Regions from separate parts of the Homo sapiens genome. Here region 1 is linked to region 2. The links are contacts of gene promoters, found by promoter capture Hi-C in blood cells and fetal thymus (Javierre and others, 2016). All regions are on one chromosome and are shown on one strand. Each heading gives the region's core, a stretch centred on a gene start or on the middle of the fragment in contact. The rest is flanking DNA. Distances are from core to core; before and after follow the strand shown.

Evidence for each region. The method cuts DNA at HindIII sites, captures the fragments that hold promoters and counts their contacts. A CHiCAGO score of 5 or more calls a contact.
Region 1: a fragment that was not itself captured here is called in contact with the fragment with the promoter of TSHR in region 2 in 9 of 17 cell types (naive CD4 T cells, activated CD4 T cells, total CD4 T cells and 6 more); the score reaches 7.7 in naive CD4 T cells.

What each region holds. Positions count from the first base shown.
Region 1 is chr14:81,243,788-81,248,607 of GRCh38, reverse strand. It overlaps the pseudogene DYNLL1P1. Among named protein-coding and RNA genes, the nearest start is that of GTF2A1-AS1, 25 kb to the right of the region's middle. The HindIII fragment of the contact is 6,209 bases long and covers 1-4,820 here.
Region 2 is chr14:80,952,481-80,957,351 of GRCh38, reverse strand. It overlaps TSHR (thyroid stimulating hormone receptor), which reads right to left and starts at 1,731. Exons shown (of 10, transcript NM_000369.5): 1 at 1,502-1,731. The coding sequence starts at 1,671. It also overlaps a transcript of CEP128 not described here. The HindIII fragment of the contact is 2,816 bases long and covers 113-2,928 here.

The sequences.
Region 1 (4,820 bases), core at 1,180-3,679, 290 kb before region 2:
AGGAGAATCACTTGAACCCGGGAGGCAGAAGTTGCAGTGAGCTGAGATTGCGCCACTGCACTCCAGCCTGGGCAACAAGGCGAGACTCCGTCTCAAAAAAAAAAAAAAAAAAAAAGAATTGGAGCCAGGAGTAATGTCAGCAAGATGGCTGACTAGAGACACCTGCTGCTTGTCCCGCCCAACAAGAAAGGCCCAAGGCAATGAATAAACAGCTCACTTTGACTGGAGTGTCGAAGGGAGAGCACTGGAGTACAGTGGGGGAGTGGGATGAATCTGCAGTGACAGAAGTCCGGAAGAGCAGCATGGAGGCACCCGGCCTCTACAGCCCCATCTGCTTTTCCCAAATCGGATTGGCCTGAAGACAGGAGGGACTTCCTGTTGTGGAGAAAAGGTAAGCAGATCCCCACCAGCCTTCATTATCTTGACAAACACCTATAGTCCTTTCTACAGGAGAACCCCACAGTTCTCACAAGCCCTGAGCCCCGTTTGCAGAGCTGCCTGGAATTCATGCAGCTGCACTGCCTTGGATTAGGAGTGTAAGGTGTGCACTCCCCACCCCCACCCACTCCCTGTGAGCGAAGCTGCTGCAGAATAGCCCCATCTTGACAGCAGAGCCACCTGTGGAGTGCACCCTCCTCCCAGGGTCAGCAGCCACCCCAGCACTGGGGCTCCATTTTCATTACGCCAAGCCCACAAGGGTAGCTGGATGCCACAGCCCTAGCTGTGCAGAGCTTGGGCCCAGGATCAGCTGTAACTCTGGTCCTGCAAAGCAGAGAAACCAATTCCCACCACCATACATCCAGCTAGAGAAAGAGTCTGCCGGTCTCGCCCAGGGCAAACTGTCCATGAGCTAGCCAAACCACTGTGTGTCCTCCCACATATGGGAGCTGAGATGCCCCAGGCCAGCAGAGTGGCTACACTAGAACTAGCCCTGCAGCACCCCTGCCCCCAACAGTCATGCTCCTGACCTGCCCAGTGGGCCTGTGTCTCCGATAAGAGCTTAAGAAAGAGTCCTGTAGGTCACTACTGGTGGCACGTCTCCAGGGCAGCCAAGCAGCCAAGAGCCCATATGCCGGACTTAAAAAGCAGTCCCGCAGGCTGCCCCTTGTGGGCGTGCCCCTGAGCCAGCTGAGCAGCCATGCACTTGAATCCCAGACCTGAGAAACAGCCCTGTGGGCTGCCCCTGACAGTCATCCCCCAGGACAACTGACCGGCTGTGTGTCCGTGTCCTAGATTGAAAAACAGCCCTGCAGGCTGCCTGTAGTGGACACAACCACAAGCTGACTAAGCAGTCCTGTGCTCCTTGCCCAGGCCTACGAAATAATCTCATGGGCCACCACCCACAGAAATGCCCCTAGGCCATTTGAGCAGCAATGCAGATATGTCATAGGTCTGAGAAATAGCCTTGTGCCCAACCCAGGCAGCAGAGCAGTCATGCACCCATGCACTGGATCTGAGAAATAACTTGCGGGCCACCCCCAGCAGACGTGCCCCTGGGCCAGCCAAGCAGACTTGTGCCCACATCCTGGGCGTGAAAAGCAGCCCCATGGGCCGCCAATGGCAGACATGTCCGCAGGCCAATCAAACAGTTGTGTACCAGCATCCTGAGCCAGAGGAACAGCCCCCTGGACCATCCTCAGCAGATGTGCACTCACACCAGCCAAGAAGCCATGTGATCACGTCTTGAGCCTGAGAAACCTCAGGGACCACCCCCAACAAACATGCCCCAGGCCAACTGAGAAACTGGGCAGCTGTGTCCTGGGCCTAAGAAACTCTGTGAATCACCCAGAGCAGACACACCCTAGACCCAAGCAGCTTTATGCCTGCATCCTAAACCAAAGAAAGCATGTTGTGGGTCACCCCTGGCAGACACATCACCAGGCCAGCCAAGCAGCTGTGTGCCCACATCCTGGGTTGAAGAAAGTCCCACAAACCGAGATGCGCCACGGCTTTGGTAGCAACGGCAGCTCCAGCCGGGCCTGAGCTGTGCTGGCACCTCCCAGGGGACCGTTGGAGTTGGCCAGCCCCTTTCTCCATGGTAACCATGTGCGACCGAAAGGCCGTGATCAAAAATGCGGACATGTCGGAGGAGATGCAACAGAACTCAGTGGAGTGCGCTCCTCAGGCGCTGGAGAAATACAACATAGAGAAGAACACTGCGGCTCATATCAAGAAGGAATGTGACAAGAAGTACAATGCCACCTGGCACTGCATCCTGGGGAGGAACTTCAGTAGTTACGTGACACATGAAACCAAACACTTCATCTACTTCTACCTGGGCCAAGTGGCCATTCTTCTGTTCAAATCTGGTTAAAAGCATGGACTGTGCCACACACCCAGTGGTCCATCCAAAAACAAGGACTGCAGCCTAAATTCCAAATACCAGAGACTGAAATTTTCAACCTTGCTAAGGGAACTCCTCGATGTTTGAACCTTTGTTGTGTTTTGTACAGGGCATTCTCTGTACTAGCTTGTTGTGGTTACAAAACAATTAGCACAATAGCCTACATCTGTATTTATTTTCTATTCCATACTTTTGCCCCACGTTGTTTTCTCTCAAAATCCATTCCTTTAAAAAATAAATCTGTTGCAGATGTGAAAAGAAAAAAAAAAAAGTCCCACAAACCATTCCTGGCAGGCACACCCCAAGGCCAACTGAGCAACCATGTGTGCATGCCCCCAGCCAGAGTAACAACCCTGTGACCTAAACCACAGTGAGCCAAACCCCAAGTTGGCTGACCCACTGTGTGCATACACACACACACACCAGGCCTGAGAAACAGTCTGGGAAGCCCAACTCCAGCAAAGCCACATCATTATCACAAATTCTCTCAGCCTAGACCACTGAGAAACACACAAATGCCACTAGTATGGATTACAGCTGAAGAGACTAAATGGAGAGTACACTACTGTACATACCTAGAATCAAGGTCAATGCACCCCACTGAACTGACACCCAAAGGTTTATTGGTACAAATAAGTGTTTCCCTATGAAGCCTTCTTCATAAAACTGGAAAACATAACTTTTCCACCAGATGTGTAGAAATCAATGTATGAACACATCAACCATGAAAAGGGGAAAGAAACATGTCACTTTCAAGGAAAACAATACTTCTCTAGTAACAGACTCTAATAAAACAATATGAAATGACAGAAAAAGAATTCAAAATAATAATCTTAAAGAACCGCAGTAAGATGCAAGAGAATACAGATAGACTAATGAAATCACAAAAATCAGTTTATTATTTGAATGAGAAATTCAACAAAAAGATAGATATCATAAAAAGAAGCAAACAGTCTCTCCCTCCCCCTCCCCTTCCCCCTCCCCTTCCCCCTCCCCTTCCCCCTCCCCCTCCCTCTCCCTCTCGGCACGGTCTCCCTCTGATACCCATACGAGGCTGGACTGTGCTGCCGCCATCTCGGCTCACTGCAACCTCCCTGCCTGATTCTCCTGCCTCAGCCTGCAGAGTGCCTGGGATTGCAGGCACGCACCGCCACGCCTGACTGGTTTCTTTATTTTTTGGTGGAGACGGGGTTTCGCCGTGTTGGCCTGGCTGGTCTCCAGCTCCTGACTGCGAGTGATCTGCCAGCCTCGGCCTCCCGAGGTGCCGGGATTGCAGACGGAGTCTCGCTCACTCAGTGCTCAATGTTGCCCAGGCTGGAGTGCAGTGTCGTGATCTCAGCTCGCTGCAACCTCCACCTCCCAGCCGCCTGCCTTGGCCTCCCAAAGTGCCAGATTGCAGCCTCTGCCCGGCCGCCACCCTGTCTAGGAAGTGAGGAGCGTCTCTGCCCGGCTGCCCATCATCTGGGATGTGAGGAGCCCCTCTGCCCGGCTGTCCGGTCTGGGAAGTGAGGAGCACCTCTTCCCAGCCGTCATCCCGTCTAGGAAGTGAGGAGCGTCTCTGCCCAGCCGCCCATCGTCTGGGATGTGGGGAGCGCCTCTGCCCCGCCACCCCGTCTGGGAGGTGAGGAGCATCTCTGACCGGCCGCCCCGTCTGAGAAGTGAGGAGCCCCTCCGCCCGGCAGCCGCCCCGTCTGGGAAGTGAGGAGCCCCTCCGCCTGGCAGCCACCCCGTCCGGGAGGTGGGGGGCAGCCCCTGCCCGGCCGCCACCCCGTCTGGGAGGTGGGGGGCGCCTCTGCCTGGCCGCCCCGTCTGGGAAGTGAGGAGCCCCTCTGCCCGGCTGCCACCCCGTCTGGGAGGTGTACCCAACAGCTCATTGAGAACGGGCCATGATGACGATGGCAGTTTTGTCGAATAGAAAAGAGGGAAATGTGGGGAAAAGAAAGAGATCAGATTGTTACTGTGTCTGTGTAGAAAGAAGTAGACATAGGAGACTCCATTTTGTTCTGTACTAAGAAAAATTCTTCTGCCTTGGGATGCTGTTAATCTATAACCTTACCCCCAATCCCGTGCTCTCTGAAACATGTGCTGTGTCCACTAAGAGTTAAATGGATTAAGGGCGGTGCAAGATGTGCTTTGTTAAACAGATGCTTGAAGGCAGCATGCTCGTTAAGAGTCATCACCACTCCCTAATCTCAAGTACCCAGGGACACAAACACTGCGGAAGGCGTCAGGGCCCTCTGCCTAGGAAAACCAGAGACCTTTGTTCACATGTTTATCTGCTGACCTTCCCTCCACTATTGTCCTATGACCCTGCCAAATCCCCCTCTCTGAGAAACACCCAAGAATGATCAATAAATGCTAAGAAAAAAAAAATTGATAAACATAATGACTGCAAAAGTCTATCTTTTCTTTTTAGTATTCTTTCTTAAATGTATTTTCTACCCTAATATTTCATGAGAACTTTGATTCCTACTAA
Region 2 (4,871 bases), core at 482-2,981:
GTTACAAGAAAGTAGACAATGTCTAAGGGCTAGGGTTAGGTTCATGCAGAGAACGCTGTTGGGAAGGGGGGTATAGCTTACCCAGCCTGAAGGTCATGGGTCAGGAGAAGCTTCCTGCAGGGTTGATCCAGGATCTGGATCTGGGAGTAGGCATTAGCTGGGTGAAGAAATGGGTGAAATGTGCTTCAGGCAGAGGGGCCAGAAAGTGGGAAGAAAGGCAAGGGCAGCTGTAACAGCAGGGACCTTTGGGGAAGTGCCAGAAGTTCTCAGCAGGAGGGGGAAGTTAGAGAAATGAGGAGCAATGAGGTTGGAAAGACTTGACTAGGTCTTGAAAGATCTGGTAGGCTGCACAAAAGAATTTTATTCTAGAGGTGACAAGCAACCTATGTAGAGGTGTAATCAAGAGGCCATTACACCTTTTACACATCTTATTCTGTGGTGGCAGCATGGAGAATGACTACCACACTGTTTGGAGGTTATTGAACTAATTAATTCAGGTGTGCTAAGACACTAGGATATCTCTGAGCACAGAAATATATCTCTGTGCTCAAATATTCATCTACTGTTAAATAGTCTTCATGAGCTAAATTCTTGAGAAAATCTAGAGGTGCAACTTTCCCATTTCTTTTCATCTATCAACATTTTCTTTAATAACCTGCATTTTTTTTTATCTTAACTGGATTTAACCAGCCTAGGTTGTTTTACTGTCCTTTCTTTCTGTTCTCTTTTTAACTAATCAAGACAGACTTTATTCCCTTGGTTTTGTCTACAATTTCAATGATCACTGATTTAAATTGCTGTTAAGAAACAGGTTGTGTGTGTATAATCTTATTTAACATCAGGTTTCTAATCTGGTAACATTTAACATGCAGATAAATGTACTATACTTTTATGAAATTTCATTTCTTTATACCTCTATCACAAAGCAGGGTTCTGGACGTACTATTTCACTGGCAGTTCACATTTGAGTAAGTAACTTACAGATACTGTATAGACAGTTCATTTTAAAAAGGGCCCCTGCTTAAACCTTTGTCAACAATTTGATGAATCAGCAGAACTGCTAAGATAACCTCCCATCTAGAGAAACAAAAAGGAGAAATACATATTTTTGCAATTTTTTATTACCCAAGGTAAGATCAAAAAGGTCAGTTCCTGAGATGCCATTATCCTTATTAATTCAAATAAAACAGATTCAACCAGGGTTAGGCAAAGTGCTGAATAGCAGCTTGTTGGAAAGAACAGCTCTCACGGTCATTGTACACCAAAGTTTTGTAACATTTTCCTGTGTTGGGAATGAGGATGTCAACAATGATACCTTCCCAAGTGTGGGCGATTAAGTTTTTAGCACACACACACATCTACACACACAGACATTCACTCACACATACACACACTCACACACTACTTCGGGCTGTTATTGAGCTGCTTTTGTGCACTTCGGGCCACCTCTGCAGATGCCCTTGATCTCTGGGTCCTACCCTGATCTCTCCCGGGTACTCACAGAGTCTGCGTACTGGGCGGTAAGCTGGGGATGCGTTGAATATCCTTGCAGGTGACTCTGAAGTCCTCCTCCTGATGGCACTCGCAGGGTGGAGACGAACACCCCATTCCGCCCAGGTCCCTGGGCAGGTCGAGCAGCAGCACCAGCTGCAGCAAGTCCGCCGGCCTCATTTTCCACGGGACTCGGGGCTATTTCTCCATCCTCCGAAATCGCCTCATTCTCAGCTCTGCACCTCGGGTTACCCCAGGCCAAAGGAGACCCGGGAGCGGGAGGGGTGGGAAGAGGGAGGGCTCCAAGGGGCTGTGACCTCACCACTGTGGAGGAGGCTGGAGAAGGGGAAAAAGAGGCACTTAAGTGCTCCGCTTCCCTAGGCAACCTTGACCCAAACAAGTCTGCTTGCTTCACTTTCCTTGGCTGGACCCACGCAGTCCGCTCCGTCTGTTCCCTGACACCCAACACCAGTCCTGGCTGTCCCCTCTGTTTTCCAGCCCGCCCCCCCACCCCGGGCGCCCCTCCCATTAGTTCTCTCCAAAGCCTAGTTTAGATGCCCCCTCCTTTCCTCCTCTTTAAATCCAAGGAGCCACCTTCCCTAGCGTGTAGCCTTCTAGACACCCTGTCTGCCTGGGAGCCACTCGCACGCACTCCTTATCCAGAGAAAGTCCCCGCGGAGTGGACTGTCCGCGGGCGGACCAATGTCCTGCAGAACTTCAGCTCCTCCTGGCCAGAGACACCTCTGCTGAGGGTCAGAGGCGGGCACGCAGCCCTGGCTAGCCCGCGGTGCGGCCGAAGCCGTCGCCCTGCACCCCTGGAGGATTCTCGTTGCTATCCAACTGCAGGGGCCACTCCGGTGGTTGAGTCGACTGGCAGCGGCCGCCTCACGTTGCAGCCCGCGGCTCCGCGAGGCAATTCAGGAACTGAACTTTGGGGCCATCTGCTGGGAAGAATCGGGAATGGCAGAAATAATTCCAGGTTCCCTTAATAATGGGTCCAGTATGGAAATTCTGGTCGACCCAAGAATTTCATTGAGTCATATTCCCCCTGGAAGATGGGAAGAAAAATAATACTTAAGTGGCATACTCACCATTCTTCGCACAGTAGCCAAAAAGATCATTACAAACATAAATCAGATTGTGCCTATTTCCTTCTTAAAAGTCTTCAATCACTTATTCCTCTTGGGATAAAAGGAATGTCAATTCCTTCTATACTGCATAATTCCTTTTATATGAACTTGGCTAGGACAGGAAGGAAAAAGTTGTGGTTATGGGAATCAGAATAAAGGTTAGGAAAGATTGACTAGAAAAAGACAGGAGGGAACACACAGGGTTTCCATATCGTAATTAGGCTGGAGGTTAAGTGGATGTATACATTTATCAAAATTCATTAAACCGTACATTTAAAATATGTGTATTCCAAATTTTACAGAAGCTTTATTCATAACCACTAAACGAACCAAGTGTCTCGCGACTAGATAATGGATAAACAAACTCTGATACCTCCACATTGGAATACTATTCTGCAATAAAAATGAATGAACTGCTGATACAACATGCACAAATTTTCTTTTCTTTTTTTTTTTCTTTTGAAACGGAGTCTTGCTCCGTCGCCCAGGCTGGAGTGCAATGGCGCGATCTCGGCTCACTGCAACCTTTGCCTCCGAGGTTCAAGCAATTCTGCTGCCTCAGCCTCCCGAGTAGCTGGGACTACAGGCGCCCGCCACCACGCCCGGCTAATTTTTTCGTAATTTTAGTAGAGACGGGGTTTCACTGTGTTAGTCAGGCTGGTCTCGATCTCCTGACCTCGTGATCCGCCCGCCTCGGCCTCCCAAAGTGCTGGGATTACAGGCTTGAGCCACCGCACCCGGGCTTTTGTTGTTGTTTTTTTAAAAATTACCATGGTATTGTTATGGAACAAATCTTGAATGCATAATGTTAAGTGAAAAAAGCCAAACTCAAAATATTACGTATTTATATGTAATTATTCATATTAATGATTCATTTATATAGCTTTCTCAAAAAGGCAAAACCATAGGGACAGGAAAAAGATCAGCGGTTGCAAAGGCCTAGGGTAGGGCTGACTACAAATGAACACCAGAGAATTTTGTGGGTAATAAAACTGTTTTAAATCTTGTTCGTGGTGATGGTTCCATGGTAGTTTATTAATGTGGTGAATCATAGTGATCGATTTTCGAATGTTAAACCCACCTTGAATTGCAGGGATAAATCTCACTTGATCATGATGTATTTATCCTTTTTTTGTTTGTTTGTTTGAGACGGAGTCTCGCCCTGTCGCCCAGGCTGGAGTGCAATGGCACGATCTTGGCTCACTGCAACCTCCGCCTCCCGGGCTCAAGGGATTCTCCTGCCTCAGCCTCCAGAGTAGCTGGGATTACAGGCGCCCGCCACCACGCCCGGTTAATTTTTTGTGTCTTTAGTGGAGACGGGGTTTCACCATGTTGGCCAGGCTGGTCTGGAACTCCTGATCTCGTGATCCGCCCGCCCCAGCCTCCCAAAGTGCTGGGATTACAGGCATGCACCACCGTGCCCGGCCGTGTTTATCATCTTTTTAATATACTCCTTCATTGGATTTGCTAAAATTCTGTTTAAAAGTTTTACATAGACGTTCACAAGGGATAGTAGTCTGTTATTTTCTTTTCTGTAACTTCTTTGTCAAATTTTGGTATGAGGGCAATTAATTCTTCCATCACAGAATAAGTTGGGAAATATTCCTTCCTCTTTAAATTTCTATAGGAGTTTGTGTAGAACTGATATCATTCCTTTCTTACTTATTTGGTAGAATTCTCCAGTGAAGCTGTTGGAACCTTGCATTTTCCTTATTGGAAGGTTTTTAACTATAAATCCAGTTTCTAAACATAGATTTAGGGCTATTCAAGTCATATAATTCTTCTTGAGGTAGCCTGGGCAGTTTGTGTCATATAATGAATTGTCTATTTCATCTAAATTGTTGAATTTATTGGCATGAGTTTGTTCATAATATTCTCTTATCCTCTTATATTTATATAATCTATTCTGATGTCAACTCTGTCATACCTGATATTGATAATTTGTATCTTCTTTTTTTCACCTAAGTACTTTATCCAGAGGGTTATCAATTTTATTCATATTCTCAAAGAAGCAAATTTTTGTTTCTTAGATTCTCTATTTTTTTTTGTGCTCTATTTCATTGATATATGCTCTGATCTTTATTATTTTATTACTCTGCCTACTTGGGGTTTAATTGGCTCTTCTTTACTTCTTAAGGTGAGGTTTCTTAAGACTGAGGTCACTGATTTGAGGCCATTTTTCTTTTATAATATTGTATGTGTGTAGTGCTGTAGACTTTCCCTATACTACTTTAGAGACATCCCACAGGT